Regions from separate parts of the Homo sapiens genome. Here region 1 is linked to region 2. Evidence: promoter capture Hi-C in human tissues and cell types (Jung and others, 2019). All regions are on one chromosome and are shown on one strand. Each heading gives the region's core, a stretch centred on a gene start or on the middle of the fragment in contact. The rest is flanking DNA. Distances are from core to core; before and after follow the strand shown.

Region 1 (5,002 bases), core at 1,878-4,377, 300 kb after region 2:
TGAGGCTAGAGAATCGCTTGAACCCAGGATGCGGAGGTTGCAGTGAGCTGAGATAGTGACATTCCACTCCAGCCCAGGCGACAGTGCAAGACTCCGTCTCAAAAAAAAAGAAAAAAAGGAACTTGATTTTACACATTTTAAAAATATAAATTATGCTGATTCCTAAGGGACATCTCTTTTTATTTTTTTATTTTATTTTACTTTTTATTTTTTTTGTGAGACGGAGTCTCGCTCTGTCGCCCAGGCTGGAGTGCAGTGGCACGATCTCGGCTCACTGCAAGCTTCACCTCCCGGGTTCACACCATTCTCCTGCCTCAGCCTCCTGAGTAGCTGGGACTACAGGGGCCCGCCACCACCATGCCCGGCTAATTTTTTGTATTTTTAGTAGACACAGGGTTTCACCATGTTAGCCAGGATGGTCTCGATCTCCTGACCTCATGATCCGCCCGCATCAGCCTCCCAAAGTGCTGGGACTACAGGCGTGAGCCACCGCGCCCGGCCTTGATTTTTAAATGTATATCCATAGCATCAAATAATAGACACTAGAGACTACAGAAGGTGGGAGGGTGGGAGATGAGTGAGGGTTGAAAAATTACCTATTGGGTACAGTGTTCCCTATTCAAGTTATGGGTGCACTAAAAGCCCAGACTTCACCACTACGCAATATGTGCATGTAAAAAAAATCTGCAGTTGTACCCCCGAATATATAAAAACTTTAAAAATTTTTTAATAAATTAAAGGGAAAAAGTTTAAATAAAATTTGAAACTCATGGACAAATATACATCCATAAAATAACCACTTCAAAGCTGAATAATTATTGCTTCCTTTCTTTATAGACTTAAAAATAATAAATTGGCTTTCATTTTTCTTCCAATCTCCAACAGATTGAAGAAGAGATGTTGGCTTTGCAGAATGAGCGCACAGAACGAATACGAAGCCTGTTGGAACGTCAAGCCAGAGAGATTGAAGCTTTTGACTCTGAAAGCATGAGACTAGGTTTTAGTAATATGGTCCTTTCTAATCTCTCCCCTGAGGCATTCAGCCACAGCTACCCGGGAGCTTCTGGTTGGTCACACAACCCTACTGGGGGTCCAGGACCTCACTGGGGTCATCCCATGGGTGGCCCACCACAAGCTTGGGGCCATCCAATGCAAGGTGGACCCCAGCCATGGGGTCACCCTTCAGGGCCAATGCAAGGGGTACCTCGAGGTAGCAGTATGGGAGTCCGCAATAGCCCCCAGGCTCTGAGGCGGACAGCTTCTGGGGGACGGACGGAGCAGGGCATGAGCAGAAGCACGAGTGTCACTTCACAAATATCCAATGGGTCACACATGTCTTATACATAACTTAATAATTGAGAGTGGCAATTCCGCTGGAGCTGTCTGCCAAAAGAAACTGCCTACAGACATCATCACAGCAGCCTCCTCACTTGGGTACTACAGTGTGGAAGCTGAGTGCATATGGTATATTTTATTCATTTTTGTAAAGCGTTCTGTTTTGTGTTTACTAATTGGGATGTCATAGTACTTGGCTGCCGGGTTTGTTTGTTTTTGGGGAAATTTTGAAAAGTGGAGTTGATATTAAAAATAAATGTGTATGTGTGTACATATATATACACACACATACACATATATTATGCATGTGGTGAAAAGAATTGGCTAGATAGGGGATTTTTCTGAACACTGCAAAAATAGAACGTAGCAAAATGGCTTCAGTTATCACTTTTGGGTGTCTGTATCCTAAGAAGTTTCTGAAAAGATCTAAAGCCTTTTTATCCCATATCCCAAATTCTTATGAGCCACTCACAGCAGGCAGCATATGTTGAAATAAGTTATTACTGGTACACACCTGCATTGCCTCACCAGTGTATTTATTTGTTATTAAATTGATCTGACTTCTCAGCCTCATTTGGACTAAAAAAAGAAAGCAGAAATCCATGAACACATTGCTTCTCGGCCTTTTGGCTAAGATCAAGTGTAGAAATCCATGAACACTAAAGGACTTCATTGATTTTTTCAGAGAGTAGAAAACAACTTAGTTTTTCTTTTTTCCTGAATGCGTCATAGGCTTGTGAGTGATTTTTGTCCATTCAATTGTGCCTTCTTTGTATTATGATAAGATGGGGGTACTTAAGGAGATCACAAGTTGTGTGAGGATTGCATTAACAAACCTATGAGCCTTCAATGGGGAAGACCAGAAGGGTGAGAGGGGCCCTGAAAGTTCATATGGTGGGTATGTCCCGCAGCAGAGTGAGGAGATGAAGCTTACGTGTCCTGACGTTTTGTTGCTTATACTGTGATATCTCATCCTAGCTAAGCTCTATAATGCCCAAGACCCCAAACAGTACTTTTACTTTGTTTGTACAAAAACAAAGACATATAGCCAATACAAATCAAATGCCGGAGGTGTTTGATGCCATATTTGCAAATTGCCATCTATTGAAATTCTCGTCACACTACATAGACATAATTGTTATCTCCTTTTGGCTTATGTGATTTTCTGTTTACAAGTAGAATAGCCAATTATTTAAATGTTTAGTTGCCACAGTGAACCAGGAGTCACTGAGCCAATGACTTTACCAGCTGCTGACTAATCTTCATCACCACTGTAGATTTTGCTGCATGTGCAGGTCCTCTATTTTTAATTGCTGTTTTCGTTGCTGCAGTACTTTACAAACTTCTAGTTCGTTGAGACTTAGTGACCATTTGGCATCAAGTTAACATCACACAATAGGAAACACCACTTCCACAAGTCTCAAGCCTCAGTGCTAAAGTACTACTGAAAAGGAACTAGGAAGTTTGGCCAATTAAAAAAAAAAAGTAAAATAAGTTATAGTGGTCAGGGAATCTCTTGACGAAAGCTAACTCTTATTTTTCAGGGGGCACATGTTTTGTTTTGTTATGTTTTGTTGTACAATGAAGGATGAACCCAATGCTAAAAAGTCAGTTATTTTCTTGGTTTTCCATTTCTTGTATATAAATTGTGTTGGAGGTGGGTAGGAAGCTGTGAGTATGACTTGAAGAAAAATATCCTTTTCAGTGACAAATCAGAGTTTCTTACAAGTTATTGTCCTGCTCCCTTCCAAGTTGTCTTGAAGAATCCTTGCTGCTAACTCTGGATCCTGCTTTTCCTATAGTCAGAGGGCTCCAAGGTAGAACTCTCTAAGTCCCTCTCAATGGCACTCTTTGCCTAGACCAAACTAATGACCAAACAGTAATCAATCTATCACTGTTGAAGTCCTGGTTTTCTCAACCAAATTTTAAGTCTTTCCCAGGTATGTCAGTCGAGTTGCCATGAATCCTCACCTGTAGGAGTTTCTGGGATTCATTTTAAGGAAACTGGAAGAAAATTAATGTTTTAATGTAAATGTTTTTAAAACCAAGATCACCATAGAGTTCACACAAAATTTTAGGCAGTGTTTCAAGAAGCACTCTTATGTGTTGTTCTTTCAGCCCATGCTCCAGGTCACCGGTTTTTAGGTAAACATGACATGACATGTACTTGTAATATCAGTGAAAGGGGCTTTTAGTCGTCTCAGTATCTTTTTTGCATTCAGGTATTATAGCGTTTCCAACAAATTGAGAAATTACTTATTTGGTGTAAAATGACGAGAGAGCTTTAGAATTTAATAAAATGTCAAAAATACAATTTGATACCCTTAAAAATTATTCATAGATCTGGCTGCTCTGTACTACTGGATGGGTGGAATAGGGAAGCAGATCACTTTTGCATACAAAAACTCTTTCAAACCCAAAATATTATTGGTGGTACATTTTAAAGTCCAATTGTGGACTTAAATTAGTCAAATTGAGAGTTACTGAGTCCATTCAGATCTCCAGTAGGGTTTTGTATCTAATGTATTTGGCCACCAGTTTTACATGTAGGTCATGACTATACCTGGATTTTATCATTAAGTTAACTTTAAAGTATATACAGTTTGCAAAAAATGATTCAAATTAATTGGTTTGTATATGTTTGTGAGATCTAGCTTCTGAGGAATCTCATACATAGTAGGAACCATCATAGAGTAAAGCTTGTAGCAGAAAAATTGGAAGGGTTTTGAGATATCCTAGAGAAAGAGCAAGCACTTTCTGAATCAGTGGGGAAATATCAATATTTGATCAAATTAACACTACCTCCTTCCCAGTGTTGGTGTTCACTCACTATATGTCTTTAAGAAAATTAAAACTATGGAAAATTTGTCTAGCATATCAGAAGTTGTAAATGCTATATCTGGTATCCAGAGGCTGGCTGTAAAAAGTTCCTTGGGGTCACTCTATCTCACATTTTTTTTGGTTAGCATTTTAAAAATGCAAAGCCACATACTTTGAAATATATTATTCCAAATTGAGCTCCCTTCCCTTTGCACATATTTTTTCCTCCCCTTATTGAAGTCAGCTCTAACCCCAAATTCTAGTATCCAAAAGTATTTTTATTTGTATAATGCTATCTGAAAAATGTGTTTATATTATATTTTCAGAGCTGCAATTCTTATTCGCCATTTCAATACCTAGAGATAGAGAGTCTTGTATTTGAAGCCACACACACTGGTGTAATATGCTTAGTACTCTAGGTCAAGGATTTGTTGGTAAATGGAACATTTTAGCATAGTCATGATTTTTGGTTGCCTAGACATCAGGTAAACATTCAGTACACTAAAGAAACTATCCTGGACACTCCCTCCTGCTTCCACCAATTTTTTTCTCACCCCCTTTTCAAAAATTGAAAACTCTATGAGTGTCTTTTTGAGACCATAAAGCAGACTTTAGTAACTTTCTATTTCTGTAAGTACTAAATGTCTGGCATTTTAAACTTTTGTAGAATACATTATGTTGGACACTGGAATAATACTATTTATTTTCACCTGTGAAAAATGACTTCATTGTACTTGAAACACCTCCTTTGCATTTCTCCATTTGTGCCATTCACTAGTGGAAATAAATTGTATTATACCATGATCTACTGGCTTTTTAAAACTGTATTAAATATGCACATTTTTGG
Region 2 (5,105 bases), core at 2,399-4,898:
GTCTCTACAAACAAATACAAAAATTAGCTGGGCATGATGGCGCACACTTACCATCTCAGCTACCTGAGAGGCTGAGTTGGGAGGATCGCTTGAGCCCGGAAGGTGGAGGTTGCAGTGAGCCATGATCGTGCCACTGCACTCCAGCCTGGGCAACAGAATGAGACCCTGTCTTAATAAAAAAAAAAAAGAGAAAGAAACAACCAAAAAAAAAAAAAACCTCAGTGAACTAGACAGATGAGGCTCCTGCCCTTATAGAGCATGGAGGCTAGTGGAAGAATTAGATAGGTAAACAATGTTTTATTTTTTAAAATCACTTAGTCTTAATAGAAAATATGTTCCCAATGTTCAAAATTTAAAGATTACAGAAAAATATACTATGAAAAGTCTTGTCCTGTATCTGAGGCCCAAGTGCCTCAGTTTCCCCCAACATTTGGAAACCAGTACTTCTAGTTCCTAAAGCAATTTCTGCAGCATGATCAATGTGATCTTGTGTAATTGGAAAAGCACAGGATGACATGAGGACACACTGTGAGGGCCTAAGCCAGCCTAAGAGTGGATGATTGAAAAAATGACTAAATGAGTGTTTCCCAAAGACCCTAATTCTGAAGAAAGGAAGGAGGAAGAGAAGGGAAAGGAAAGAAGAATCACCAACCATAGACAGCTAGTGCTTTAAGCCCTTGCACAGCCACCAGGTGGCCAGAGCATGCTATGATACCAAAAGCAACTCTGTCCCCTGCCAGACATCCGTCCAGACATCACGAGTTAATCAAGGCATCAGAAACATCCTTGGGGCGATGTGCCATGCTTAGCATCAGATTTATATGTCTAACAGCAAGTTTGTCCAACCGGCAGCCTGCAGGTGGTATGTGGCCCAGGACAGTTTTGAATGCATCCCAACACAAATTAATAAACTTTCTTAAAACATTATGAGATTTGTTTTGTAATTTTTTTTTAGCTCATCAGTTATCATTAGTGTTAGTATATTTTATGTGTGGGCCAAGATAATTATTCTTCTAATGTGCCCCAGGGAAGCCAAAACATTGGAAACCCCTGGTCTGGAACGTTCTACCCAAATCTGCAAATACTCGAATACATACCAGACCTCACCCCCTGATTTTTGGTTCTGAAGAAAAGGGGCCACTGATGAAACTTGAGTCGGGGACTGGAGAGATTGCAGAGGAATTGAGAGAACTTTCTTTTTCTCTCCAAGCTGCTATGAAATTTTCTTTTTTCTTTTTTTTTTTTTTTCTGAGATGGAGTCTCGCTCTGTCCCCCAGGCTGGAGTGCAGTGGTACAATCTCGGCTCACTGCAAGCTCCGCCTCCCGGGTTCACGCCATTCTCCTGCCTCAGCCTCCCAAGTAGCTGGGACTACAGGCGCCGCCCGCCACCACGCCCGGCTAATTTTTTGTATTTTTAGTAGAGATGGGGTTTCACCGTGTTAGCCAGGATGGTTTCGATCTCCTGACCTTGTGATCCGCCCGCCTCAGCCTCCTAAAGTGCTGGGATTACAGGCGTGAGCCACCGTGCCCAGCGAAATTTTCAATAGTATCTTTCATTGGAAAGAGAGTAGGGTAAGGAGTCATAAGCCTACAATGTATCAGGCAGATATTCTATTTTTGAGGTTGAGAGAGTCTGAGTGACTTGCTTCAAATCTCCCAGCCAGGAAACTGGGATTTGAACCCACATCTGCCTGGCTCAAAGCCTTCCACATCCATTGCAGCCTCTTGCTTCTCACAATATCTGTGATGCTTGCAGAACACATCTTCCCCTTCAGGGCCCCTGCGGAGGCCCACGATTCCCCTACCTTACCTTCATCAAGTGTCCTGAAGTTTCTGGGAGAAGTCATTTTACACTTTAAGGTACTATACGCATAGTAACTTGGGCCTGTGAGATTTCCAAAGACCTAAAACAATTCAGTAAAACGTCAAAATTGGCCGGGCACAGTGGCTCACGCCTGTAATCTCAGCACTTTGGGAGGCCGAGGCAGGCAGATCACTTGAGGTCAGGAGTTCAAGACCAGCCTGGCCAACATGGTGAAACCCTATCTCTACTAAAAATACAAAAAAATTAGCCGGGCATGGTGGCAGGTGTCTGTAATCCCAGCTACTCAGGAGACTGAGGCAGGAGAATCACCTGAACCTGGGGGGCAGAGGTTGCAGTGAGGCAAGATCGCACCACTGCACTCCAGCCTAAGCAACAGAGCGACACTCTGTCTCAAAAAGAAAAAAAAAATTGGTTTTGAAGGTGTGGGTGGCAGGAATTCTCGCCCCTGGCCTGGGTGAGCTAGAGGGGAGAAGCAAGGACATCTAGGTCCCTATCACCGCTTGCCTAGACAACTTCACAGGAAGGCCCCCGGGAATCTGAGATGGAGCAGGTGAACCCTTTACATCTAGATGGTGAGTCCAAAGGAGGTATTCAGAAGGTTGCCTTCTTCCCCTTCCTACTGCTGCCCAACGATGACCCGCAGGCTGAAAGAGCCCTTTCCTCCTGGAACTGATGTGGGACCTGGCCTGTTTGGGAGCAGAATGGTGAAAGGAATTAACATGGAAGACAAAGGGACAGGCAGCCAAGATCATTTGAGGAGGAAAAATTGCTTCATTTCTAGGCTCCTTCCCCTTTTGAAACAGATAAGTTACATCCATTATATGCTCAGTGTTTATATTCAGAACTGCAGTTCTAGCCAGGGGGGTCTCTTTCCTCTCCTGGAATTTTTTGGGCCATTTATGCATTACTCCTGAGGGAGGGCCAGTGCAGGGCAGTGACTTTGGTGTTGGTTAGAACTGGATTCGAGTCTTGGCTCTGCCATTATAAATACTGTGACCTTAGGCAAGTCACCTGATTGTTCTCTTAGTTTCTTAATCTGGAAAATGGAGGTGAAAATAGCACTGTTGTGGTGGCTGTGAAAAAGTATTTCTTTCTTTTGTTGTGGAAAAGTATTTAATTCAAACTTTTTAAGTAAAGCATTTAGCACATGTCTAATATATAGGAATTATTCAATAAATGGTTTAATTCTTTTTTAAAAAACCCAAAAGTTATAGCTCCAAAATTTTTAAAGAAAATTGCAAAATTAAAAGGAATATTTAATAAAATAGCTACAGAGAGACACATGTCTGCTAGTCAACTATAATTGAAGTCAACCCTTACATAGTTATATATAAATACAGCATAATAAAGATTCCCAAGAATACAATGAACCATTTTTTCTCATATTGAGTTCAGAATTACAATAATTCTTTCACATTTTTAAACAACAAGAAATGCACATCTGTATGGAAGTGAGGTGCATTTTGATGTGTTTGATATGACATGGGGTCTCCCAGGGTCTTAAGGTCTTAGGAAGATCCCAAGGTGGTGTGAGGAACCTGGAGAAGGACAAGAGACAAGTACTCATGGCAGAGACTTCTGTCCTCACCCCCTAGCTGCTCTGAGAGATTAAGAAAGCCAAGGCCTGCAGCAGCCAGCCATGCCCACAACAGAGGGGCCTCTCTGGATTTCTGTATCCCTGGTTTAAACAAAGGCCCCAGCAAGCTGAGCCACCAAAGCTCTGGGGATCATGAGGAACAAAGGCAGAGGGAGAGCAGAGTGCTGACAGGGCCAGAGGCCAGAGGCCGCAGGGCTATAAAGAGGAGGGCCACAGAGCAAGTGGTACCAGATGGAGACCCAGGCTGAGCAGCAGGAGCTGGGTGAGTAAGGCCCTCAGGGTGCCCTTGCCCTTCCTCTCCTTGCCCTGCAGAGACATGCCCAGGAGAGGGCCCAGTTCTCCTGCCTAGTGTGTAGAGCCTTCTAGGGTGGCTGGAGAAGAGTGGGGAACTCTGGCGGAAGACAGCCTTCTCTTGTCACCCCAAGAGGAGTCACTTATATAGCAATAACCACTGCCCTAGCAACTAAGGCTGGGGGATGGGCATGGGCCCCCAAGAAACGAGCAGGGAGAAGGTATGGGAGCAGGACCTGGGAAATGTTGCTTATTCAGAGATTCAGAATGGAAAAATATATTACAGAGTTGACATGCATCATTCCTGGGCCCAATACCAGCCAGGAGGAGGGCCATGAATATCTGTCCTAAGAAACCTAATACACACCTGCCTGTCTTCCTTCTTCCCTTCCTCCCCCACTTTTCCTTCCTCTTTCTTGCTCTGTCCTTCCTTTTTTAAAACTCGTCCTACCATCTTCACTGTCTACCTAACCTCTTTGAGCCTCAGTATCCTCATCTGTAAAATGGGGATAATGATAATTCTTAATTCATAGTCTGTATGTGAAGATTAAATGCATGAATGCATGTAAAGCATTTAAAACAGGGCCGGACATGTAGATAGCCATTTTTGAGTGTAAGTATTATAACTCTTTTCTTCTTCACTTTCCTTCAATAAGTCTTTTTCAATGTCCCCCTGATCCCTCATCTCCACATGTGCTCAGCACGATGCTATACCAATCCCCTAGAAGACCGAGGCCTTGCCATTGAGGTGCTCACCAGGACATCCAACCAGAACACAGATTGGTACTGTGATGAGTGCTATAAATCAAGAAAGCAAGCAAGTGGCTGTGGGCTGGAGAAGGCAGGAAAGCCTCTGAGAAGGCAAGGTCAAGGCTGGGTAGGATCTAGGAGATAGAAAAGCAGAAAGGAATGGCCAGGCGCCGTGGCTCATGCCTGTAATCGCAGCACTTTGGGAGGCCAAGGCGGGCAGATCACCTGAGGTCGGGAGTTCAAGACCAGCCTGACCAACAGGGAGAAACCCCGTCTCTACTAAAAATACAAAATTAGCCGGGCGTGGTGGCACATGCCTGTAATCCCAGCTACTAGGGAGGCTGAGACAGGAGAATCGCTTGAACCTGGGAGGCGGAGGTTGCGGTGAGCCGAGATTGCGCCATTGCACTCCAGCCTGGGCAACAAGAGTGAAACTCTATCTCAAAAAAAAAAAAAGAAAAAGAAAAGCAGAAAGAGGCCAGATAAGGATGAGACCGTGAAGGGTTACGAGGGAGTCTGGGGCTTGGGATCCTGGCATGGCTGGCTGTTTGGCCAGTCACATGAGGGGTCTGGCCTAGGTGGTTGCCAAAGAGTTTATATTGCAGACAGAGGTAATGCTGTCACCTGAAAGCAAGTGAGAGG

What was found. Contacts are between HindIII fragments. The study calls those that stand out against the background at their distance.
Region 1: a fragment that was not itself captured here is called in contact with the fragment with the promoter of CRYBA1 in region 2 in 1 of the 25 tissues and cell types used here (dorsolateral prefrontal cortex).

What each region holds. Positions count from the first base shown.
Region 1 is chr17:29,541,676-29,546,677 of GRCh38, forward strand. TAOK1 (TAO kinase 1) reads left to right here. Exons shown (of 20, transcript NM_020791.4): 20 at 886-5,002. The coding sequence ends at 1,347. It also overlaps the pseudogene LOC124904148. Among named protein-coding and RNA genes, the nearest start is that of ABHD15, 23 kb to the right of the region's middle. The HindIII fragment of the contact is 5,004 bases long and covers 626-5,002 here.
Region 2 is chr17:29,243,211-29,248,315 of GRCh38, forward strand. It overlaps CRYBA1 (crystallin beta A1), which reads left to right and starts at 3,649. Exons shown (of 6, transcript NM_005208.5): 1 at 3,649-3,684. The coding sequence starts at 3,654. The HindIII fragment of the contact is 12,335 bases long and covers 1-5,105 here.